7 separate regions of the Homo sapiens genome follow, and all the other regions are linked to region 5. The links are contacts of gene promoters, found by promoter capture Hi-C in blood cells and fetal thymus (Javierre and others, 2016). All regions are on one chromosome and are shown on one strand. The core of a region is centred on a gene start or on the middle of the fragment in contact, and the rest is flanking DNA. Distances in the headings are between cores, read along the strand shown. Region 1 overlaps UTP20 (UTP20 small subunit processome component). Region 2 overlaps UTP20 (UTP20 small subunit processome component). Region 3 has its middle 22 kb from the start of ARL1. Region 4 overlaps LOC105369935 (a long non-coding RNA gene). Region 5 holds the start of GNPTAB (N-acetylglucosamine-1-phosphate transferase subunits alpha and beta). Region 6 has its middle 28 kb from the start of MYBPC1. Region 7 overlaps UTP20 (UTP20 small subunit processome component).

Region 1 (3,501 bases), core at 65-2,564, 470 kb before region 5:
CAATGGCAGCACAGAAAGAGAAAAGCAACTAGACTAGGCCAACCCTCTCAGAACTGTAGTTCCAATGAATGGAGAGGAAGCTTCCCCTCCCAGAGTTGTAGCTCCTGCCCTTCCCCGTTTCAAGGCCACTGCCACCACCACAGCATTGCGAGACATGGTATATTGAGAACTGGACATACAAGGAGGACTACATCTCTGTTCTTGAGGATTCATGCACACATTTTTAAGGAACACTTGAGGTGTTTAAATGAGTAGCCCTTTTTTTCTCTAACCATCTGTTCTTCAAGTCTATCCCATTATTAGTTAAAATAACTAAATTAGAGTTGAGAGAACAACTGATTTCAGCTTTAGTGTTAATCATGTAGACTGTACCAAAATTGTTCTCTTCGAGCATCACTCGTCATCCTCACCTCCACCAAAAGGTTTTTTTACAGTTACAGGAAAGTTGGGCACAGTGGTGTGTACCTTTAGTGCCAGCAACTCAGGTGGCCGAAGTGGGAGGTGAACACCTTGAGCCCAGGGTGTTCAAAACCAGCATGATAACATAGCAAGACCCTGTCTCAAAATATGTATGTTAATTTCACAGCAAACATTTCAAGTACAGGTGCTTTTTGACTTTTATGATGAGACAGTGTCCCAATAAATCCATCATAAAGTTGAAAAATCATAGATCAAAACATTGTAAGTCGGGAACCGTCTATATATAAAAGTACTTAAAGATCACAAGTAGGGGCCGAATGCTGTGGCTCACACCTGTAATCCCAGCACTTTGGAAAGCTGAGGCGGGCAGATCACTTGAGGTCAGGAGTTCAAGACCAGCCTGGCCAACATGCTGAAACCCTGTCTCTACTAAAAAATATCTGTATATAAAAATTGGCATGGTGGCACATGCCTGTAATCCCAGCTACTCGGGAGGCTGAGGCATAAGAATTTCTTGAACCCGGGAGGCAGAGGTTGCAGTGAGCTGAGATCGCACCACTGCACTCCAGCCTGGGTGACAGAGCAAGACTCTGCCTCCAAAAAAATAAAAGACCACAAGAAGGTACATAAGAAACTATGCGTTTAAGACCCAATCTACGTTTTGACAACTAAATGTGTTTCCTTAGCCTATGATCATTATCTGATATTTACCTTGTTAATTTCACAGCACTAGAAGCAGCATAAAGAATTCAAAAAGCTTGAGAGGCAGGATAACCTGTTGTGGAGCCTGGGACTCTGGTTTCTAATCTTCACTCCACCAGTTCCTACCTATGACCTCTTTGCGCCTCAGCTTCCTCATCTAAAAACTGCTGATGATGTAGTACCTACTCCATAGATTGGATGAGTGAGGCTTAAATGATTTAATACATGTAAGGTATTAATATAGTACCTACCCTGTAGTAAGCTCTCAGAAAACATCAGCTTGATTTTTGTTGGGTGCAAAAACTTGTTTCCTTCATAATATTTTATTTACAAGCTTTGATTACATTCAACATGGGCAAGCTCCTTAATTCACAGGTTGGTCTTCTTTCTTTAAAGTTCAGGACTCTTGGCCAGGCATGGTGGCTCACTCCTGTAATCGCAGCACTTAGGGAGGCTGAGGCAGGCAAATCACCTGTGGTCAGGAGTTCGAGATCAGCCTGGCCAACATGATGAAACCCCATCTTTACAAAAAGTACAAAAAAATTAGCCAGTCACGATGCCGGGTGACTGTAATCCTAGCTACTCGGGAGGCTGAGACAGAAGAATCTCTTAAACTCGGGAGACGGAGGTTGCAGTGAGCCAAGATCGCACCATTGCACTCCAGCCTGCGCTACAAGAGCAACACTCTGTCTCAAAAATAAATAAATAAATAAATAAATAAATAAATAAATAAATAAATAAATAAAGTTCAAGACTCTTGTGCCTTTCTTTATAAATCACTGGCCTGGTTTAGTCACAACAATAGATCCTAAGAATGGTAGTGGGTTTCTGAACACCTTTGGTACAAAGTGATCATTTGGTTACAGGATTTTAGATAGTGAAATAACTATGTGTCATTTGTCGAAGCTTCTCCTGGCAATAAAAGACATATAAACTCTGAGTGTTCTCTTTGCAGTGCTTCCTAGATCTTATGTTTTCCTAGTGTGACATTGTTAATATTCATGTTGTTGCTGTGTGTCTCATGTTAGGTCCATGTGCTGACTTTCACCGTTCACATGCTGCTGCAAGGCCTCACCAATAAGCTGCAGGTCGGAGATTTGGACTCTTGTTTAGATATAATGATTGAGGTAAGACTTACAGAAACGAATTCTAATTTTTTTTTAAGTGGGCCAACGACACAAAAAAATCAATTCACCAAATAAGAAATAATAATAGCCCATAAAAATGAAAATAATGTAACACCTCATCTTTTAGATTAGCAGAGGTTTAAAGAGCTAAGACTAAAGCGAGATGGGCACTCTGTCACTGCAAGGAGGTCATAAATTGATATGATCTTTCCGGAAAGTAAGTTGCCATTTTGTATCAAGAGCTTTTGAAATGAGAAAAGATTTTCAGTCACATCTAAGAATCTATTTTTAAGAAATAAGTTATGTTCACAGGAGCTTTATTTATAATACAGTCGGAAATTAATAATAACTTTTAAAATTGGGCCAGGCACTGTGGCTCATGCCTGTAAACCCAGCACTTTGGGAGGCTGAGGTGGGCAGATCACTTGAGTCCAGGAGTTTGAGACCAGCCTGGCCAACATGGTGAAACCCCGTCTCTAAGAAAAATACAAAAACTAGCCAGGCATGGTGATGCGCACCTGTAATCCCAGCTACCCAGGAGGCTGAAGCAGGAAAATCCCCTGAACCTGGGCTGTGGAGGTTGCAGTGAGCGCAGACCGCGCCACTGCACTTCAGCCTGGGCGACAGAGTGAGACTCTGTCTCAAAAAAACAAAACAAAACAAAATTGGATAGTATACTAATTTGGAGGCTACCATTGTGAAGATAATAAATTTGCCACATAACCTTTTGTTCATTTGTTTTAAAATGTAGACACTAACATTTTGAATCTCAATTTAAATATTTACGTTAGGCCAGGCACAATGGCTCACACCTGTAATCCCAGCACTTTGGGATGCTGAAGTGGGTGGATGACTTGAGACCAGGAGTTTGAGACCAGCCTGTGCTACATGGTGAAACCCCATCTCTGCTAAAAATACAAAACTTAGTCAGGTGGGGTGGCACATGCCTGTGATCCCAGCTACTTAGGAGGCTGAGACACGAGAATTGCTTGAACCCAGGAGCTGGAGGTTGCAATGAGCTGAGATCATGCCACTGCACTCCAGCCTGGGTGCCAGAGTGGGACTCTGTATCAAAAAATAAGGTAATTAATTAGACTAATAATTAATTAGATTGCAAATATTTGTAATTTATAATTAGAATGTAAATAATTAATTAGATTGCAAATATTCTGAGAACTTCTTGAAGGGAAATTAAGCTACTCTTTGGTACATCAAAAAAGAAGTAACTGTCTGTAAAGTCATACAATTATAT
Region 2 (3,309 bases), core at 406-2,905, 450 kb before region 5:
AAAATACAAAAAATTAGCTGGGTGTGGTGGTAGGTGCCTGTAATCCCAGCTACTTGGGAGGCTAAGGCAGGAGAATTGCTTGACCCCAGGAAGCAGAGGTTGCAGTGAGCCGAGATCACTCCAGTGCAGTCCAGCCCGGGCCACAGAGTGAGACTCTGTCTTAAAAAAAAAAAAAAAAAAAAAAATGTAGAGTATTATTACCTGTTTCTCCCCAAAATGTGAAAGTATCCCATTTATTTGGGATGAAATGCTTAGGGCAGGTAGAAGGGAGCAGTACACCACTTCTGGTCATGAACCTTTCCTCTCCAAATCTATACAGGTGGTCATTCAGAGCAAAATCCAGTACGTTAGTTGTATTACAGTTATTATGTTTAGCTTTTTAAAAACAATCAGAAATGTCCTGTGTTTTGTCTACCAATGTCCATTTTCTTTTCACAGATGAAAAGTATCTCTCTCGCCTCTTGCCATCAATTGCATTCCAAATTCTTGGATCAGTCTCTAGGAGAACAGGTAAGAATTGTAGTTCTCCCAGTTTAAAAGAAGGGGCCGGCTGGGCATGGTGGCTCGCGCCTGTAATCCCAGCACTTTGAGAGGCCGAGGCGGCCAGATCACCCCGAGGTCAGGAGTTCGAGATGAGCCTGGCCAACATGGCGAAACCCCATCTCTACTAAAAATACAAAAAAATTAGCAGGGCATGGTTGCGGGTGCCTGTAATCCGAGCTACTTGGGAGGCTGAGGCAGGGAGAATTGCTTGAACGTGGGAGGCGGAGGATGCAGTAAGCCGAAATCACGCCACTGCACTCCATCCTAGGTGACAGAGCGAGACTCCGTCTCAGAAATAAAGAAGGGGCCTATTCTATCAACAGTCTAAGCTTACATTTGTTATTTTGTTTTGTTTTGAACCTATCTTAATGCTTGGGGGATTAGATGAAATACAGACATACACTCAAATATATGTTCAAATACACATATGTCTTGTCAACACTGGGTCTGTATTGGGATTACTCTTTGCTCCATTTAAAATTCCCAATAAGGGTCTGGGTGCGGTGACTCACGCCTATAATCCCAGCACTTTGGGAGGCCGAGGCAGGTGCATCACTTGAGGCCAGGAGTTCAAGACCATCTTGGCCAATATGGTGAAACTTCATCTCTACTAAAAAGACAAAAATTAGCTGGGCATGGTGGCGCATGCCTGTAGTCCCAGCTACACAGGAGGCTGAGGCAAGAGACTCACTTGAACTGGGGAGGCAGAGGTTGCACTAAGCCAAAATCACCACACTGCACTCCAGCCTGGGCAACAGAGCTAGACTCTGTATCAAAAAAAAAAAAAAAAAAGAGAGAGAAATAGTTATTTCTATGTAGAATGGCGGAAGGAATTTAATGGAGGTAGAGATGAAAGCTGTTGTTAAAAATGTAAAATGGGGCTGGTGTGGTGACTCTCACCTGTAACATCAGCACTTCAGGAGGCCGAGATGAGCAGATCTCTCGAGGCCAGGAGTTCAAGACCAGCCTGGCCAACATGGCGAAACCCTGTCTCTACTAAAAATACAAAAATTAGCTGAGCACGGTAGCCTGTAGTCCCAGTTGCTGGGGTGGCTGAGGCATAAGAATTGCTTGAACCCAGAGGCAGAGGTTTCACTGAGCCGAGATCGCACCACTGCACTCCAGCCTGGGTAACAAAGTGAGACTCTGTCTCAAAAAATACCCAAAAAACAAAACAAAACAAAACAAAAAATGTAAATGGAGGGCCTAGAAGGAAATTGTTTCCTTATTCTGTGTGACTTTAAAGGGTAGAACTAGTCCAGATAGATCAAAGTTACATGGAAATGGGTTTGGATGCCCTATGAGGAAGAACTTAAGAATGATCTAGGCCAGGCACGGTGGCTCACACCTGTAATCGCATCACTTTGGGAAGCTGAAGCAGGCAGATCACCTGAGGTCAGGAGTTTGAGACCAGCCTGGCCAACATGGCGAAACCCCGTCTCTACTAAAAGTATAAAAATTAGCCAGGCATGGTGGTGCACGCCTGTAATCCCAGCTTCTCAGGAGGCTGAGGCATGAGAATCATTTAAACCTGGGAGGGGGATGTCACAGTGAGCCGAGATTGCACCACTGCCCTCAGCCTGGGTAACAGAGTGAGGCTCTGTCTTTAAAAAAAAAAAAAAAAGGAATATCTAAAAATGGAGCCTTCATCATTTAATAGTTGTTAAATAGTTGTAATACCTAGTTTGTTTTTGTTTTCTAATTGTAGAATACCTATTTTAGCTTATGCTCTACTAAGCCTTATTTATTTCAAAATCAATGTCCAATTTCTTCCCCCACCCCGTTTTTTTTTAAAGGTTGTTAAGAATTTGTTGTTCGCAGCCAAAGTCTTGTATTTACTGGAACTTTATTGTGAGGATAAGCAAAGTAAGATAAAAGAAGACCTGGAAGAACAAGAAGCTTTAGAAGATGGTGTGGCCTGTGCAGATGAGAAGGCGGAGTCTGACGGAGAAGAGAAGGAAGAGGTGAAGGAAGAGCTCGGCAGGCCGGCCACGCTGCTGTGGTTGATCCAGAAGCTGTCCCGGATTGCAAAACTGGAAGCTGCTTATTCGCCGAGAAACCCCTTAAAGGTGCGATGAATGCACAGAATGACTGACAGTAGTCATTTCTCTTTAAAAAGTATTTTAATGATATTAGTGATCCTCCTAAGTCCCTAGAAACTTTATCTTTGAACCCCAAACTGCAGCAATAACATCCGTCCCAAAATAGACTGAGCCCTGTTTTCTCAATTAATGCTGTGTCTATGATTGAGTGCTAAAGAGAAGTCTTTCAAATGAAAAAAATGATCTGTACTTTCAGAGAACATGCATCTTTAAGTTCCTCGGCGCCGTAGCAATGGATCTTGGGATAGACAAGGTAAAGCCGTATCTCCCAATGATCATAGCTCCTTTGTTTCGGGAACTCAACAGCACCTATTCAGAGCAAGGTAACCCTGCCTCGTCTGTTCTCCTGCCTTTTGCACATGAGGATTTCTAACTTCTCTCCTGAATGTTTCCTTCTTCCTTTCTGTCCTCCCTCCCTGCCTGAGATTTATTTTTATTTATATATATATTTTAATTATATATTATATACTTATATATGTTTATATTTATATATATACACACACACACACACACATACATTTAAAAAAGAGAGAGAGATGAATAGTGGTCTATGTTATGCCAGGCTGGTCTTGGTCTCAAACTCCTGGCTTCAAGCAGTCTTCCAACCTCAGCCTCCCAAAGTGTTGAGACTATAGAAGTGAGCTACTGTACCCAGCCAGAGTTT
Region 3 (3,608 bases), core at 886-3,385, 400 kb before region 5:
TGCCCAGCTAACAGCACCTCTTAATACTGTTATAATGGCAATGACACTTTTTTTTTGAGTTGGAGTTTCACTCTGTCACCCAGGCTGGAGTGCAATGGTGTGATCTCAGCTCACTGCAACCTCCTCCTCCCAGATTCAAGCAATTCTCCTGACTCAGCCTCCCAAGTAGCTGGGATTACAGGCGCCCATCACCACACCCAGCTAATTTTTGTATTTTTAGTAGAGACAGGGTTTCACCATATTGGCCAGGCTGGTTTCGAAATCCTGACCCCGTGATCCGCCCACCTCGGCCTCCCAAAGTGTTGGGATTACAGGCGTGAGCCACCGCGCCCGACTGGCAATTACATTTGAACATGAGTTTTGGCAGGAACATTTAAATAATAGCAGTTACTTACTTTTTTAGAAGGCTAACTTTTTAAGGGCAGCGTCTTTCTTATTCTTCTCTGTATCTCCAGTGCTACCACACTGGAGTTCAATAAATGTTTGTTGAATTCATGAAGGATGAGGCTTGAATTTCTTAACTTAGCATTCAGATACTTCCATAATCAGATCCAACTGACTACCTCTCTCCAGTTCAGTCAAACATTGTGGAATCGGGGGGAAACTCACTGTTTCCAGGACTCTGTAGATTTTGCTTCTATAGTGAGGTTTGCCATTACCATTGGGAAAGCCATCCAGCCACTCTGTGGTTCAGATTCCTCTGCAAAATGAAGGATTGGTCAAGAGTGAAACTCCTCAGACTTTAATGTCTACATACAAAGCACCTGGCCGGGCGAGGTGGCTCAAGCCTGTAATCCCAGCACTTTGGGAGGCTGAGGCAGGTAGATCACGAGGTCAGGAGAACGAGACCATCCTGGCTAACAGAGTGAAACCCCGTCTCTACTAAAAATACAAAAATTAGCTGGGCGTGGTGGCGGGCGCCTGTAGTCCCAACTACTCGGGAGGCTGAGGCAGGAGAATGGCGTGAACCTGGAGGTGGAGCTTGCAGTGAGCCGAGATGGTGCCACTGCACTCCAGCCTGGGTGACAGAGCGAGACTGCATCTCTAAAAAAACAAAACAAAAAAACAAACAAAAAAAGCACCAAAGACCTTGAACATGCACAATCAGACTGTGATTCTGCATTTCTACAAGCTCCCAGGGGATGCTAATGCATGAATATTTGTACCTTTTTCTACCTTTCAAAGATCATGTTGAAATTTAATCCCCAGTGTGGCAGTATTGAGAAGTGGGGCCTTTAAGAGGTGACTGGGCCATGAGGGCTCTGCTTTCATGACGAATTAATCCATTTCTGGATTCACGGATTCATGAATTAATGGATTATTATGAGAGTAGGACTGGTGGCTTTCTAAGAAAAGGGAGACACCTGAGCTAGCATACTCAGTCCCCTTACCATGAGACATCCTGCACAGCCTTGGGAGTCTGCAGAGAGTCCTCACCAGCAAGAAGGCTCTCACCAGATATGGTCCCTTGACCTTGGACTTCTCGGCCTCCATAACTATAAGGAATAAATTCCTTTTCTTATAAATTACCCACTTTCAGTTATTCTGTTTTAAGCAACAGAAAACAGACTAAGACAACTATTGAAGTAATTACGAAGTTCTATGTTCTCTGGTCTATTTATTGTCTTTTTCATGACTGATGCTATAAAGTTCTGTATATTGCTTCTCTTTCCTGAGATGCTTTCTCTATTCATTTCCCTCCATATAAATCCAACTCACCTTTTCAAGCTCTTTCTCCTGGGCAAAGCCTTCCATTACTACTCTAGTTCCCCAATTCCCCCCATCTTTATTATATTATAGTATCCATTGCTGGCACTTGGAATGTTACACTAATCACCTACAACTATTAATTGTTGCTTATCATTATGTACACAAGTAACCAGTTATATATATTTTTTTCTTTCCTAGGAGGCTTACCACAGTGGCTCAGGTATAGTAAGTTGCAAGTTTTGTTGAATAAATGAATGAATGAATGAATAATTTACTATAGCATTGGTGCTCCAGAGAGATATCAAATGTTTCAGTATTTTATAAAATTGTTTTCCAGAACATAGAGGAAACTGCCAATTTGGAATTTCCCCAGCCTATTCAAATGAGGCAGTCCAAGCTAAGCAATAATTTGATCCATTCAAAAGTTAACGATATTAAAAATAAATGTTGATATTAAATTTCAAATTTCTCTTTAGCTTCTGAAACACTGGCATTTGCTACTGCTGTTTTTGTCTCACTTTTCAAAGCCAAATACACACAATATATTATGCATGAGAAATTAGCATCATATTGCATAAAAGATTTGTCCATAGAGTATGATTTGTTATTATATCATGATTTCAACAGCTTGGTCAAACAATCTGCTTTATACTAAATATCATGCTGCATACCAAATAATGAAGTGGACTTTCTGCCTGTTGAAAGACAAAGAATCTTTATTATTGATATAGAGAAGTTGTTTTAATCTTAAAGTTAAAATAAGGAAGTTCTTTGAATATTGCTTAACTCACAACTGTGGGAAAAAACGTAGAAGCATTTCAGAACCTACCATCCTACTTTGCATTTCTATTGAACAGCTGCGTTTTAACCACCTTGCAATATTTGTTGTATAAAATACACTTTAACCCTAATATAAATTTATAATTTTTGACAAGAGTAAGTAACTATATTACATATTACCAAATTTTTGATCAGATAAATATTTTGGTTGTAAGTCATTATAATTGAAATTTACTGTAAAATCTCTTGGTAAACTTGTAAAGTATTAGCTCCACAAATGTAAAGCATTATAATCATTACTATGCAAAACATATAATATTTCTGAAAATGCTGGAAAATATAAGCTAAATGAGTACACCTAATAAAGTAATGTATCACTTGAATAGGAGCTATAAAGTATAATGAATCTTATTCTTAACAGATTTTAGTCATTTAAGTTTGTTTTCTTTAAAGAATTTCTATTCTTAATTTAGTTTACATACCTCTGATGGAAACTTCTCTTCACAAAGTAAAGTGAAGATTCTCAGAAGACAGACATTAATATTCACTTTTAACTATCTTTTCATTTATGTAGTTCTCTAGCTTCTGATAAAATATTTATGGAAGGAGGTCATCTTTAGTTCTGGTTTTGCAAAGCTCTCTGTCATCTGTAATCTCAGTTCTTCAGAATAGAGCAACACAGAATACAGAATTCATAGAGACCAGAAGGGCTGACTCAGGCCTGGCATTTTTATAGAATGCTTAGAGCCAGAAGAACCTCGGAGATCATCTGTTCCAGTCTCCTTGTTTTACAACTGGGGATGCTGTGGCCTTGAGGTCACCCTGCTCATTAACTTGAACTCTTCTCTTCTTCAGTCCGTAGTTCTTTCCATCTTGTGAATTGAGACATGGGAAAACTAAGAATACTAAGAGCATCAGAAAACACAGGTAGGTGAAGGAGGTAACAAAGTCTCTTCCAGACGGCCGTGAAGCCCTGCCATTTGCAGCTTGCATCTCCACACCTGGGTCAACTCTCAATGGCTGCCATCCTTGAGAGGCTTAAACCTCAACCAGTGACTGGCAATTACTAGACTGTTGATTAGACAAATGGAATATCTCTAAATGGGTTTTATTATCTG
Region 4 (3,792 bases), core at 1,103-3,602, 300 kb before region 5:
AAAAAAAAAAAAAAAAAAAAAAAAGTAGCTTCCATACCAAACGTCTTTTAATTTGGCCTGTTATATAAAGATGTTCTAAAATATGTGGTCAAAAGGAGGAACTATGTATGTTAATTAAACACACCAATATACTTTAAGAAGTTATTGTCTAAATGCCTTTCTAAAGTGATATCTATTTTGTCCCAATTACAAATTATTCATGGTTATTCCTAAAACTGGTAAATGCAGAATATTATAAAGAAAAAATACAATTCACTAACAATCATAACCCTCTTTGACATTTTGAGACATTTCTTTCTAATTATATGAGTGGGACTGGGCGTTCACTCATTATTTATTCAACAAACATCTTTTTAGTAGGTGCTACGGGCCAGACACTTTTCCAGGTGATGGTGATACAGCAGTGACCAAAACAAACAAATAACCTTTGCCATCATGGTGTTTACATTCTAGTAGATGATATTTAAAGACTCAGGAAAATATACAAATTTAACAACTAAATCAGGCTAATGATTTTGTTATTGTTCAGTAAGGTGTTTATTGTTTCTTCCCTTTCCTATATGCTGGGAGCATTTTCCTTTTCTTTTTGTTTTTTTTTAAGCAAGATTGTCATTACATTGCTTTGTGAGCCAACATAAAGGCCTTGCTGGGGTAAAAGGAAAACTCAATGTTTAAATTATGACTTCAGGAAGTTTATCCCACGGTGTGATGTTCTTAGCAGACCAATGACTGCCCAGTGGAGGCCTCAGAGTGAATTCTGGAGTATCCTGTCCTGAGAGCCAGACAATCCGAGTCCAGGACTCAATGTTCATGTCTCAGGTTTTACCAAGTTGTCAGGCATCACCGTTTCTTCTTATGACTCTGAAACATTTATTTTGGTCTTAAAAAGAAAGTTTCCTGGAGTTAACAGAACGCATATTGTTTGTAGTGCATCATCTTCTATTCCTGCAAGACTAACCTGGCTAATTACCCTGCCCCTTTGGTGGTTCTGATGAAAACAACTAAAACTTAAATCTTGAAAGAAGCTTCAGAGTAGTGAGAATCATGGAGGTGGTTGGAGGGTGGGGATGGAGCAAAGCTCATCCTGTGATGGGTATTGTCGCCCCTGGACAAAGAGCGAAAGGACAGTGGGTCCCCTTCTATGTCTGGGCCACGACCATCGTGGCCTCCTCCTTTTCACACTGAGTCTCTCACTTCTAATTCCTCCCATTTCTCCTCTCTCCCACAGCCCCACATCCTTTGTCCCATAGAATCTGCAAAAAGGAAGAGAAGACTGTATTCCTCAAAATATCAAGGACGAGGATACTGTCTGACTTGGGAATAAACCAATGGCATATACGAAGGTGCTTAACATCACTAATCACTGGGGAAATGCAAGTCAAAACCATAATGACATAGCTCCTCACACCTGTTAAAATGACTATTATCAGAAAGTCAAATGATAAGTGTTCATTGAGGGTGTGGAGAAAATGGAACTCTTGTACACTGTTGGTGGGATTGTAAATTGGTGTGGCCATTATGAAAAACAATGTGGAGGTTGCCCATAAAACTAAAAATAGAATTCCCATATGATCAGCAATTCTACTTCTGAGTGTTTATCCAAATAAATTGAAATCAGTATTTCGAATTGATATCCACACTCCCTGTTCATTAAGGCATTATTCACAATAGCCAAGACATGAAAACAACCTAAGTGTCCACTGATGAATGAAGAAATAAAGAAAAGGTGGAATGTATACATATACAATGGAATACTGTTCAGCCGTAAAAAATAAGAAAATCCTGTTATTTGAAGCAACATAGAAGAAACTGGAGGACATTTGCTAAGTGAAATAAGCCAGACACAGAAAGTCAAATACTGCATGATCTCACTTATATGTGGAAACTAAAGAGGTTGAACTCATAAAATCAGGAAGTACCAAAGGAGGTTCCCAAGGGCTGGGGGTGTTGGAGAAATGTGGGATTTTGGTCAAAGGATACAAATTTTCATTTATAGGATGAATAAGTTCTGGAGATCTAATGTACAGCATGGTAACTATAGTTCATAACAATGTATTGTATCCTTGAAATGTTCTGAGAGAGTAGATCTTAAGTGTTCTCATCACACATTAAAAAAGGTAGGTATATGAGGTAATGGATAGGTTACTTAGCTTCACTGTGATAATCACTTCACAATGTATATGTGTATCAAAGTATCTCATTGTACACTGTAAGTATACACAAGTTTTATCTGTTAATTCTACCTCAATAAAACTGGCAGGGAGAGAATAAATCCATGAATGAATACAACTGCTGGGTAGAGGGAGGTGTTATATTAATAGACACAAAGGTAAGTCATCAAGAGGCATGGTTTTTCTTCTGTTGTCTAGAAGGGAACAAAGAAGGTGTTGATTTGTTGTTGGTATCTGCCTATCAAAGCCCTAGCCAGGACAGAGTCTAGACATGAGGAGGCATTGCATACAATGAATAGCTCCACGGAGCTGTAGGTGATGAAGACAATAGCTAACTTGTCTCCCTGCTTTAGGATTTTAATGCTGATACTTTTGGATGACATCTCTGCTTCTCTTCTTGTTTTTCATTCCACATTCTTCAATGCATTATTCACCTTACCGACAGCCTTATGCAAAATGCAGCCATTAGCCACAAAGGGCTTTGCTACCAGATGGAGAGACAGTATAATGTAGTGTGAGATTGTGGATCGGCACTGTCCAACAGAAACAGAATGAAAGCCATGAATATCATTGCAAATTTTCTAGTAGCCATATTAAAAAAAGAAAAAGAATAGATTAAATTAATTTTAGTAATGTTGGTTGGGCATGGTGGCTCACACCTGTAATCCCAGCACTTTGGGAGGCCGAGGCCGGCAGCTTGCTTGAGCTCTAGAGTTCGAGACCTGCCTGGGCAACATAGCAAAATTTGTTCTCTACTAAAAACATAAACAAAAAAAAAAAAACAAAAATTAACAAGGCGTGGTGTTGCATGCCTGTGGTCCCAGGTACTGGGAAAGCTGAGGTGGAAGGATTGCTTGAGCCTAGGAGGTTGAGGCTGCAGTGAGCCCAGATCGCACCACTGTACTCCAGCCTGGGTGACAAAGTGAAACCCTGTCTCAAAAAAAAAAAAAAAAAAGGAAAGAAAGAAAGAAAAATTAATTTTAATAATGTCTTACCTAACCCTGTGTATTCAAAATATTATCATTTCAACACACAATCAATAGAAAAAATTATTGAGATTTTTATATAGCATTTCATACTAAGTCTTCAAAATCTAGTATGTATTTTATACTCAGAGCACATCTTAATTCTGGCTGGGCCACATTTCAAGTGCCCAACAGCCCCATGGGCTAGTATACACATAGAAGACCTAAGTGTATAATCTTGGGAAAATTACATAATCTCTCTGTGCTTCAGTTTCCTTGTCTATAAACTGGGAGAAGTTATAGTACAAACCTCATTTAGAATTGTTATGGAGATTAAAAGAGCACTTAAAACATTGCCTGGCACAGAGTTGGTGTCCAATAAATGTTAGCTCTTACTGTAATCAGATATAAGTTTAACCACCTCCTAATGATCAAAGCAATCTCTCAGTAAGGTCTGACTTTGGGGTTTCTAAATTAGAACCGTATGTCTGATATCTTAAGATGATGAAAATCATATGCCATTTCAAAACTCCTACCTCACTTCAAAGCTTAACACGGAAAGTTTGGTCTTGAGCTGTACTTTCACAGCTGGGCAACCTGTAATCTGACAAACTTCTTTACACCATTAAGTCTGCAAATAGACTCTTACTGAATTT
Region 5 (3,826 bases), core at 586-3,085:
CAACAAAATGTCTCTCTTTTGGTAAACAGCCAAGCATGGAATGAAAGCAAAAAGAAAAGGATATAAAATGAAAAATTCGGGCCAGGTGCGGTGGCTTACACCTGTAATCCCAACACTTTGGGAGGCCAAGGCAGGCAGATCACTTGAGGTCAGAAGTTTGAGACCAGCCTGGCCAACATAGTGAAACTCCATCTCTACTAAAAATACAAAAATTAGCTGTGCATGGTGGTACGCGCCTGTAGTCCCAGCTACTCAGGAGGCTGAGGTAGGAGAATTTCTTGAACCTGAGAGGTAGAGGTTGCAATGAGCCGAGATGGAGCCACTGCATTCCAGCCTGGGCAACAGAGCAAGACTCTGTCTCAAAAAAATAAAATAAAATGAAGAATTCTAACACCTGATGCCTTTAAGTCATCTTCACACTGCATGGGACTTAATAAACAGTTAACTCAAAATTAATCAAGGCCAAAAAAATCACACAAAAGCAATAAGGCACCTAACTACACACAGATACATTAAGTTGCAACACATGAAACAAAGACGAGCAAGTACTATAATATTAAGTACATATTTCACACTTACAAATCTGGAGCTTTCTCACCCTTATGGTAAGACATTTTTTCCCAGCCTCTAGAACCAAGAACTACTAAAAAAGTACATGCTCAGAATTCATGCCATATAATTTAGCCATTAAACAAACACTTGCACTGCATTCTCTGGCAGTACCTGGCACTGTGCTTGGGCCAGGGTTACAGTATTTACAGACAGCACCTTCTCTTACGGAGCTTACAATCCAGCATGGGTAAAGACTTCAAGCAAATGTATACTGTGGCATTTCTAAAAACTACTCTGTTAAATTTTAAAACCTTTTGTAACCTCCTACCAAAAAAAAAAAAAAAAAAGAAAAAGAAAAAAACTAAAACTAAGGAACAGATTTCAAACCACTTAAAAATACAGCTTTCCTCCCCGTTGCTAAAAGTGGCTTTCTTGGGCCAGGTGCGGTAGCTCATGCCTGTAACCCCAGCACTTTAGAAAGCCAAGAAGGGAGGATCACTTGAGCCCAGGACTTCCAGACCAACCTGGGCAACATAGGGAGACCTCCGTCTCTATTTTTAAAAAACGGTGGGCGAGGGAGCAATATCTAAAATCACATACATGCCTTTTTCCAGTTCTGACTTGCTCATAGTCTCTGCACACGTTTATGATAAAGAATACTGTATTTGGCCGGGAGCGGTGGCTCACGCCTGTAATCCCAGCACTCGGGGACGCCGAGACAGGGCGATCGCCTGAGCTCAGGAGTTCGAGACCAGCCTGGGCAACATGGCAAAACCCCGTCTCTAATAATGAAAAAATACATACTGTATCGGGGCATCGCGGGGCACGGCGAGGGCAGTGCAGGGTCGAGGCGCCCGGTCCAGGCTGCGGCGCCGCTACTCACCTCTCCGAACTGGAAGGCGGAGACGATGGTGACAACGACGCCCAAGAAGCACACGTAGAGCCCATACCTGTGGGACAGGCAGGTATAGGTCTGTCTCTGCAGGAGCTTGAACAGCATCACCCCTTCACCGCCACGCCACGCCCCGAGGAGCCTGAGCCGCCGCCGCCGCCGCCGCCGCCTCAGCGAGCCGCCATTCAGGGGCCCCGGTCGGGCCGCCGCGCGCAGGTCACAGCCTCCGGGCGCCGCTCATTGCAGCTCCGGCGACGGACGCCCGCTCGGCTCCGCGCCGCGGCCGCCGCTTCCGGGAGCCGGGAGCCCACGCCCTCGGCGCGGCGGAGGCGGACCTGCGGCCGGCGAGGCGGCCGGCGCCGCCCGGGTCTGGCCGGGCGAGAGGCGGCTGCGGCGGCGGCGGGGTCTCCAGCGCCACCTGGAGGACGGAGGGGCATAGGGAAGGTGCGCGCCCTCCCCACCTGCGCTTGCGCAGCGGGCCCTGAGGGCTGGGCTGGGAGGGGCGGAGCTGAGCTGGGATCCACTTACCCGGTTGGGCAGGCGACCAAGAGAAAACTGCCCCCTGCGTCGAGACTGTGCCATAGACGGTACTATAATGCCATGAATATTTTTGTGCATAAAACCTTCTCTGCACTTAGCATTCTCTGCAGAGTGCTAAAAGGAGATGCTGTATGTGGCTCCTTTCCTCCAACCCCCAACTATATTGTTTGAAAGAGGAAACCTTTGGGTTAAATCTGCCAAAACCGAATTTCGTTCATTCATTTAGTCGTTAAATATGTAATTTGTGCCTGTTAGGTGGCATAGTGCTTGGTGTCAGGTATTCAAAAATGAACTAGACCTGGCTACTGTTCTCAGAGAGTCTAGTGGGGGAGATAAACATGTAAACCACTAAATACAAGAGTTGTTATGATAGAAATCATGCGATGAACTGGAGGGGAACCAGCTCAGGGGTGGCCAGGTAATCCGACTTTGACAGCAGGTTTTTCCCACGAGATCCTTTCCTTGGTGCCTCTGATTTACGAAAGGGAGATCTTTTTCTTAATCCCAATGCACCCTAGTCAATAAGATTTTTTTCCTAGTCACCCTGGGAAACAATACACTTATCTAATGTTGCCATCATTCAAAGCATTTTTAAAAATATCTTGGGAACCAGCTTCAGGAAATACTCAAATTCGCACCCTCAGTTTGATGGTCAGGTGGAATTAACAGACTTGCAAAAGGGGTTAGCTTCACTCCAATCCAAGGCAAGATTTTTTACACTTTGCAGTCACTTCTTTTAATCCTTCTTTTAAAAAAGATGATTGATATATGCTATATGTACATGGCAAAAGATTATTGCAGTTGTACAAGACACATATAGTTCTGAGGTCTTTTCAAGCATGATAACAGATCTGAGGACTTAATCAGAAGGGGTAAAAAAGCATGGTAACAGATATAAAAACATCTGCCACTCAACAGGACTCTCAGGATAATGGCCAACATTTATGTAGCATCTGCCATGTGCCCAGCTCATCTAATCCTCACAATAATCTTATAATGGAGATACCATTATTATCCCCATTCTACAGATCAAGAAACTGTGATGAAAAAAAGTAACTATCTAACATCACACAAATAGTAAATGACAGAATTGAGATTTGAACCAGGTACTTAGGCTGTAGAACAGGGCCAAGATTAGGGGAAGGTACTGTGAAATGAGTCATGCAAGTTTGGAGTGAGATTCTGTCTTTGTTTATAGTTTTGATATCGGGGCTGGGTGTGGTGGCTCATGCATGTAATCCCAATACTTTGGGAGGTCAATGTGGGAGGATAGCTTGAGCCCAGGAGTCTGGGAGCCCAGAAGTTTGAGACCAGCCTGGGTAACAGACCCTGTTCCTATTAAAATAAAAAAAAAATTTAAAACGTAAAATAAAACATAAAGTTTGGGTGTTTTGCTTTTCATGGATATTCTTCAGTAATGTTTTTTGTTTTTTTTGTTTTTTGGGTTTTTTTTTTTTTTTTGAGACAGAGTCTTGCTCTGTTGCCCAGGCTGGGTTGCAGTGGCGTGATCTCAGCTCACTGCAACATCCGCCTCCTGGCTTCAAGCAATTCTCCTGACTCAGCCTCCTGAGTAGCTGGGATTACAGGCACATGCCACCACCCCCGGCTAATTTTTGCATTTTTAGTAGAGATGGGGTTTCAGCATCTTGGTCAGGCTGGTCTTGAACTCCTGACCTCAAGTGATTCACCTGCCTTGACCTCCCAAAGTGCTAGGATTACAAGCATGAGCCACTGCGCCCAACCATTAATTTTGATTTTTTAAAAATATTGCATTAGGCTGGGCACGGTGGCTCACGCCTATAATCCCAGCACTTTGGGAGGCTGAGGCGAGTGGATCACCTG
Region 6 (3,819 bases), core at 539-3,038, 260 kb before region 5:
TTTGTATTTTTTTTTTTTTGTAGAGACGGGGTTTCACCATGTTGCCCAGGCTGGTCTCAAACTCTTGAGCTCAAGCAGTGTTCCTACCTTGGCCTCCCAAAGTGCTGGAATTACAGACCTGAACTACTGCACCTGGCCCAGAAACTCTTAAAAAATAAAATAAATCATTCCATTTGTCTCAGTTTGTGCTGTTATGACAAATTTCCATAAACTGGTGGCTTACAAACAACATAAATTTATTTCTCACAGTTCTGAAGGCTGAGAAGTTCAAGATCAAGGTGCTTGGCCAATCCAGTATTTGGTGAGGATCCACTTCCTGGTTTTACAGATGGCCATCTTCTTGAATCTTCACATGCTGGAGTGCGGAAGGACGGCAAGCTCTCCTGTCTCTTGTCATAAGGGCACTAATCCCATTCATGAGGCTCTACCCTCATGACCTAATCACCCCTGAAAGACCCACCTCCTAACACCATCACATTGGAGGTTAGGATTTCAACATATGAATTTTGGGGAGACATACACATTTGGTTCATAACACTACTCCTCTTCTTAAAACCTTCCAATGGAAGGTTTTAAGTCATTTATTTTCCCCTACACTTAGAATAGACTCTGAAATCTTTCCTGAACTTCAGAGTGCTGCAGGATCTAACCTCTGCCCATCACTCCAACCTCATTTTGTAACTCCCTGCCTTCCCCTAAACTCCACTCACACCGACTTCCTCCAATAACTCAAACTTGTTCCCATTTAGGGACTTCGCGTTGTCTGTTCCCTCTGCCTCTTCCAGAAACAGTCTTCTCCTTGATCTTTGCCTAGGGATGTGAAGTGTGGACAAAGATGTAACAATAATAAATCTAGAAGGGGGAAGTTCCGTACATACCCATCTCTGCACAGAGTTGCATTTAAAGAAGCTAAAGTTGGCCGGGCGCGGTGGCTCACGCCTGTAATTCCAGCACTTTGGGAGGCTGAGGCGGACAGATCATTTGAGGCCAGGAGTTTGAGACTAGCCTGGCCAACATGGCGAAACCGCATGCCTACTGAAAATACAAAAAGTAGCCGGGTGTGGTGGTGCACACCTGCAGTCCCAGCTGCTTGGTAGGCTGGGGCAAGAATCGCTTGAACCTGGGAGGCGGAGGCTACAGGGAGCTGAGATTGCACCACTACACACCAGCCTGGGTGACAGAGTGAGACTCTGTCTCAAACACAAAACAAAACAAAAAAACAAGAAGCAAAAGTCAACAGAAAAAAAATTATAAAAGTCTTCCACTTTTGCTTGCATCTCTCAAAGAAATTTCAAAAAAAAAAACCCAAATGCATATTTCACTGCAGCACTTATTAAAATCCTCTCTCCTGTCTCATCTACCTCCTTTGCACTCTGCAGTTGCAAACCTTTCTCCAGCATCTCCAAACGTCTAACATCCATTCCCAGAATGTTTTCCTTTCACTCTAACTCCTACTACCTCCATCCCCAACTTTTTCTTTAGGCTCACCTAGCTTTCCTTCCATAAGCAAGAATCCTTCCTCTTTAGGAGTCTGGGTGCGGGGAGAATGCCCTTTGACAGGCCAGAGAGGAAAGGAAAGCTTTCTTTCCTTTTACGTGGCTTTTTCTTGAGTCCCATAACAAGGATGTTTGGCAACCTGTAGGAAAGAATGTGTCATAGTCAAATTAAGGGGAGACAACCAAATTAGGAGTGGAAAGGCACATGAAAGGAATAGCAGCAGGGGGGTTTGCCAGGGTGGAGGGGAGGAAGGGATGACTCAACAACCTGATTGTAACTTAAAATACCACCTCTACTCTATTGATATGTCTGTTGGATGTTACGCATGTGGTAGAATTTTCACAGTTGCAAAATTAATTCTATCCGTGAATATAAGGTGATTTGACATCTTTGGAGTAGATGTTATTGCTTAAATTTTTAAGGGTCACATGTGAAAGTGAGTTACTGAATAATCAAATTGAGAAGAAACACATTACCAGATTTTGCTCGAAATGCATGAACAAGCTTATTGTTGTGAGGAGCAGAGAAGATGAAAGACCAGGGTGTTAGCGAACTTATTTTCTCTGAGGTTTGGAATATAGGTTTGCAGCCTGACAATCTAGAGTCAAATCTCACCTCCACCTTACTTCCCAGCTCTGTGACCTTGGGCAAACTACTTAAACGTTTATTCCTGAATTTCCTCATCCGTAAAATGAGGACATTAATACCTACCACATAGGACTGCTGTACTTGATAAATCATTGTACCAGTGACATTATCACATTCACCTTGAGTTGGAGAGTTAAGAATGGTTTCTTTCTTCTATTAAACCTTCTGATGATATAGAGCTTGAGCATTGTAACTAAATCTAAAGGGAGTGAGAAAAAAAACAACAACAAAGGGGCTGGGAGAAATTTTCATTTGACTGAGCTGTTACTAGCTGGGATAATAGAATCATAATATATGACGAGCAAAGACAGCACTGCAGATTTTTGGCCAGGTATTCACTGAAACCATTAGCACTTCGTATGTCAGAAGTTAAAACCTAACCCCATGAGTGAGGCAGTTTGAGCCTATATTTATAACTGCTCTGGAAGTCTGGTGCTGAGATGAAAGATCCTTATTCATTTGGGATCTTAGTCAAGTTCATGTAAATGGAAGGAAAGGGAGGAAGACTCCAGTTAACTGGTGCTAATCTAAGACAGGACTTGGGATCGATGTCTTAACTTGCCACAGAGATATTTTCCAGAGTGGCTACCAAGTAATGTTGAACTTGGAGGGATGTAAATATTGTCCAACAAAGTATAGTGTGGCTTGTTTATTATTTTTTAAGGAGTGGCTTTCTCTTTATTAGTATTTTAAATTTATTCTACTGTCTCTGTCATAGGAAAGGCTTGAAGGCTTGAATATTCCTGAATTGCTTATCTGCAAGGAAAGCTGGCTTTGGGCATGTGTTCTTGGTAATGCTAGTTTTCCTTTTGCTCTGAGGACAAAGTTGGCTAAAACCAAGTGTAACTGGAGTTATTAAGATTTTCTTACTGTACCTGTCACCAGCTAATTCAGACGCCCACTCTGAACATGTCACCAGTCCTGTCTAATGTCTCCTTAGGCAGACCATTATAAATGCCGCAGAAAAACAGGGCGAAACATGAGTTTTGGAACAAAGAGGCTTTTAAAGAGGAAAGCAAAGCAAGAGAATGGAAGACCCCCCATTCACTTGCCTTTTGGTTGGGGTTTTGCAGTTGCATCAGACTCCGGGCACTTAAAACACTTCACTGTCATCTGTAATAGGATAAGGCAAGAGAGGTTCTTTGTTCAGGGTTCAAGTGCTCTCTCGTGACCATCTCAAAATAACCCTGAAGTGTAATACAGTAGGGCCTCACGTAACTAAACCCACAAGTCTCGGACCTGTCATCATTGTCAACCCAATTGTTCTCTCCTCCCCTCTTAGGCAAGCAAAGCACTTGGATAAATTTTTCTGTCAACACTCAAAGTTGCATAAACTCCTTATTTTTACTTTTCCAAATCCAGTAGGAGTTTCTCTGCCAGTTATAGGGAAATATATAGAAGGCGGACATATCAGGTGCTTCTCTTCCAAATAAGCTTTCCTTGTGGCTTACGCTGTTCTTCACTTGGATTTGAACCCGATCAGCGGCTTTCCTTTCACCAAAGGATCTTATTTTTGTAATTTGTCGGACTTTGCAAGAATTGTGATATTCTCAGCCAGCCCTTTCTTCATAAGGCAAGTGTGCCACTGTTCAGCGTGTATTTATTCCATTAGCCAAGTTATTGCACTGAGTTGAGCATTAAAGAAATCTGATCGTTTCCTTGGTCTCTATTTTG
Region 7 (3,388 bases), core at 419-2,918, 500 kb before region 5:
ACATATGTGAGATACCATGATTCCTGAGGCTTGCTCAGCAAACTAATGACATCCTTGTTCATATTTACTTGAATTTAAAATGTGCTGTATCAGATTCAAATACCTCTGTCTGTCAGATTATCAGATTTTCATGATAAGTAATTTTCCTATTAGTTTTCTTCATGTTATCTTGGCCATAAGACTTGATATTCACTATATGAGAGCATTTGTGTTGTCTTTATAAATTGCAAGGTGGCTTTTAGGTTTTAATGTAGGTAATTAAGGTGATATATAAAAATAAATTATCACTTGTATGTCTAGAGCCCACAGTTTACTAATCAAGTGGGAAAACAATTAGGGGTTGAATCTTCTCCCATTTGTTTTTTTTTTTTTTTAACATTCTGTGCTAGGGAAAAATCCCTTTGAGGCCCTTGTCTTTCCTCTGCTTGGCCTAAAGCTCTTCATTCTTTAATACCCAGTAGAAATCTGCCTATTCCATGAAGCTCTATCCTGAAATTTGTAGTAATTCCTCCTACTGAAATATCTTTGGGCTGGGTGTGGTGGCTCACACCTGCAATCCCAGCACTTTGGGAGTCCGAGGCGGGCAGATCACCTGAGATGGGGAGTTCGAGACCAGCCTGACCAACATGGAGAAACCCCGTCTCTACTGAAAATACAAAATGAACGGGGCGTGGTGGTGCATGCCTGTAATCCCAGCTACTCGGGAGGCTGAGGCAGGAGAATCACTTGAACCCAGGAGGTGGAGGTTGCGGTGAGCCCAGATTGTGCCATTGCACTCCAACCTGGGCAACAAGAGCGAAGCTCCATCTCAAAAAGAAAAAAAAGAAATGTCTTTCGCATTTTCAGTCTCTCACATACATTCAATAAATTTGCCTTTAATAAGATTTTCAGTTGAATTGAGGTCAGGACCTCAATTCATACTAATGGCATGCCACTGGAGCCATTAGTAGGGACTCAATAAATTGTCCTACTCTGAGCCTGAACAAATTGGCTGCGTATTTGTGATTTTATAACTCACAGCGAAGGAGATGCCAGTGGAAGTAGCAATATTTGTTATTTTAAAGGTTTGCTTTTATTTCACACTCATTCCAGCCTCTATGCCTCTAAACAGACAAATCGTATTTCCTCCTAAATTGCATTTTTCTTTGAACTATGTATGTTGAGATCTTCCTATCCCTTGACTCAGTCACATCATCCTCTTGCTGTACAAAGTATTTCACTGTATGGAAAAATCATAAATTCCTTAACTAGTCCCCTAGACTAATTTTAACAAGAATAATTTATAACTTCTAGTCTTAAAAAAGTAAAATATTAAGTATGGAAATAAATAGAAAAATGGCTTTTATTTGAAATGAAGATTTAATTTTTTTCCCCCTAATATAAGGCATTATGTTGGGAAAAAAATTTTAAAAAAAAGTTTTGCTTTGTTTAGAATGTTCTGTTCATGGGAAGAAATCAGGATTTTACTTGAATGAAAAAGTAAAACAATACAGAATACAAAACAACTATTCCAGTTGTAATATTTTTTCTTAAGGATAACTAGTGTGACTACTAGGCAGTGATATTGTTTTAAGACTCTGCTTTCTTTTCTTGTTCAATGAGAAAAGTAAGACAGTTTGCTTGGTTGGTGTTCCCATGTAAATCAAGTCAACAGATTTAGTAACAGGATTTCCAGTTTGATTCTTAGCCACCTGAGCAAGAGTGCCTCTCTGAGGAATCAGGGATAAAAATGATACATATGTATTTTTTGAACAGAAGATCTTTGTTTTACAGATACAGCTGAGATTTATTAATCCATTGAAAAATTTAAGACGTCTTGGAATCAAAATGGTAACTGATATCTTTTTGGACTGGGAATCATATCAGTTTAGAACAGAAGAAATTGATGCTGTGTTTCATGGTGCAGTTTGGCCCCAGGTAAACCTCAATTTCTACATCTGCCTATGTACGTTCTGCTTTTTCCTTTATTACTAACTCACCAACATAGCTACCACCCAGACATGAATGCTTACCTGGGTCTTTCCTTTTACATCGAGCCCTTCTTTCTGGAAGTTTTTAGAACACTTTTCTTTGCCTTCACTACCACCTAAAACTCAAGAGTTAGTTTCTGCTGTACCATGGCATTTACACTTAAGGCTCAGTTGAATATGAATGTGTCTCTTAAGCAACTGTAACATAACTGTTTTTTTGAGATAGAGTCTTGCTTACTGCAACCTCTGCCTCCTGGATTCAAGAAAGAGATTCTCCTGCCTCAGCCTCCCAAGTAGCTGGGATTACAGCCATGCACCACAATGTCCAGCTAATTTTTGTATTTTTAGTAGAGATGGAGTTTCGCCATGTTGGCCAGGCTGGTCTTGAACTCCTGACCTCAGGTGATCCGCCTGCCTTGGCCTCCCAAAGTGCTGGGATTACAGGCGTGAGCCACTGTGCCCGGCCTGTAACATGACTTTTATAGCACCTCACATAGCGTTGCCTCTGGCTTTGGACAAGTGTGAGGGAAAACACCCAGGTGTTTTTATTACATACTTCCTATTTTGATTTCTCTGGTTGTAACCCCTTGGTGATGGTAACTGGTATAGGTATAGACTGAAGGAGAGATTTGATTTTAGGAAATGTTTCTAGGTGTTTGAGGTCCCAGTCATTTCCAACACTCTGAAACCTAAAATACCATTTCCTTTCTGGTGTCTAGCACTTCCATGCATCACCTTTGCCATTTTTCCTATGTAGATGTTCTTTTGGATCTCTTTATACTTTTTCTTATTGTGTCATTTGGATGTTCATCTCTGTCCCTTGTCTTTTTCATCCTGTGCTGTGATTTCTGTACTTGTTAGTTATTTGTGGTTTTTCTATAATTTGGTATATGTATTTGGTATTCTGTTTTTTACTTTGTCTCCTAGATCAGCAGGCTTGGATCTGAGAGTCAATATTCTCCTACTCCTCTGCTGAAACTGATCAGTATCTGGAGCAGAAACGCAAGGTATAACCTTTCTTTTTTCCTTCTTTAAAAAGGGCAGTGTTTTAGATGAATCTGGTTAAAGCAGTCCAGGAAACTAATAGTGTAATTTATGGTCTTTCCATACAGTGAACTACTTTTGGTACAGTTAGAGAATGAGGCAGCTGAGTAAAAGCAAGGAAAGATCTCAAAATACATAGTTTAAAGAAAAATGTAGCCATGCACAGTGGCTCACGCCTGTAATCCCAGTACTTTGGGAGGCAGAGGCAGGATTGCTTGACCTCAGGAATTCGAGACCAGTCTGGACAACGTAGTGAGGGCTTGTCTCTACTGAAAATCAAAAAATTGGCTGGGCATGTGGCGCATGCCTTTAGTTCCAGCTACTTGGAGGCTGAGGTGGGAGGATTGCTTGAGCCAACAAAGTTGAGGCTACAA

The links. The method cuts DNA at HindIII sites, captures the fragments that hold promoters and counts their contacts. A CHiCAGO score of 5 or more calls a contact.
Region 1: a contact is called between a fragment that was not itself captured here and the fragment with the promoter of GNPTAB in region 5, in 1 of 17 cell types (naive B cells). The highest score is 5.3, in naive B cells.
Region 2: a fragment that was not itself captured here is called in contact with the fragment with the promoter of GNPTAB in region 5 in 8 of 17 cell types (total B cells, naive B cells, total CD8 T cells and 5 more); the score reaches 7.1 in total B cells.
Region 3: a contact is called between a fragment that was not itself captured here and the fragment with the promoter of GNPTAB in region 5, in 5 of 17 cell types (M2 macrophages, neutrophils, M0 macrophages and 2 more). The highest score is 7.4, in M2 macrophages.
Region 4: a fragment that was not itself captured here is called in contact with the fragment with the promoter of GNPTAB in region 5 in 1 of 17 cell types (M1 macrophages); the score reaches 6.3 in M1 macrophages.
Region 6: a fragment that was not itself captured here is called in contact with the fragment with the promoter of GNPTAB in region 5 in 6 of 17 cell types (naive B cells, total B cells, M0 macrophages and 3 more); the score reaches 8.6 in naive B cells.
Region 7: a contact is called between a fragment that was not itself captured here and the fragment with the promoter of GNPTAB in region 5, in 1 of 17 cell types (neutrophils). The highest score is 6.3, in neutrophils.

What each region holds. Positions count from the first base shown.
Region 1 is chr12:101,359,812-101,363,312 of GRCh38, forward strand. UTP20 (UTP20 small subunit processome component) reads left to right here. Exons shown (of 62, transcript NM_014503.3): 44 at 2,151-2,249. Among named protein-coding and RNA genes, the nearest start is that of ARL1, 46 kb to the right of the region's middle. The HindIII fragment of the contact is 279 bases long and covers 1,176-1,454 here.
Region 2 is chr12:101,380,702-101,384,010 of GRCh38, forward strand. UTP20 (UTP20 small subunit processome component) reads left to right here. Exons shown (of 62, transcript NM_014503.3): 58 at 439-510; 59 at 2,340-2,612; 60 at 2,842-2,968. Among named protein-coding and RNA genes, the nearest start is that of ARL1, 25 kb to the right of the region's middle. The HindIII fragment of the contact is 1,570 bases long and covers 871-2,440 here.
Region 3 is chr12:101,428,161-101,431,768 of GRCh38, forward strand. No RefSeq gene overlaps it. Among named protein-coding and RNA genes, the nearest start is that of ARL1, 22 kb to the left of the region's middle. The HindIII fragment of the contact is 5,381 bases long and covers 1-3,608 here.
Region 4 is chr12:101,532,753-101,536,544 of GRCh38, forward strand. It overlaps LOC105369935 (a long non-coding RNA gene), which reads left to right. Exons shown (of 3, transcript XR_945261.2): 3 at 1,229-1,528. Among named protein-coding and RNA genes, the nearest start is that of SPIC, 59 kb to the left of the region's middle. The HindIII fragment of the contact is 2,659 bases long and covers 1,024-3,682 here.
Region 5 is chr12:101,829,124-101,832,949 of GRCh38, forward strand. GNPTAB (N-acetylglucosamine-1-phosphate transferase subunits alpha and beta) reads right to left here and starts at 1,836. Exons shown (of 21, transcript NM_024312.5): 1 at 1,436-1,836. The coding sequence starts at 1,552. RefSeq lists silencers at 968-1,262, 1,619-2,018. The HindIII fragment of the contact is 15,537 bases long and covers 1-3,826 here.
Region 6 is chr12:101,564,788-101,568,606 of GRCh38, forward strand. No RefSeq gene overlaps it. Among named protein-coding and RNA genes, the nearest start is that of MYBPC1, 28 kb to the right of the region's middle. RefSeq lists an enhancer at 1,564-1,858. The HindIII fragment of the contact is 422 bases long and covers 1,578-1,999 here.
Region 7 is chr12:101,331,528-101,334,915 of GRCh38, forward strand. UTP20 (UTP20 small subunit processome component) reads left to right here. Exons shown (of 62, transcript NM_014503.3): 28 at 1,774-1,917; 29 at 2,898-2,977. Among named protein-coding and RNA genes, the nearest start is that of UTP20, 53 kb to the left of the region's middle. The HindIII fragment of the contact is 4,703 bases long and covers 1-3,388 here.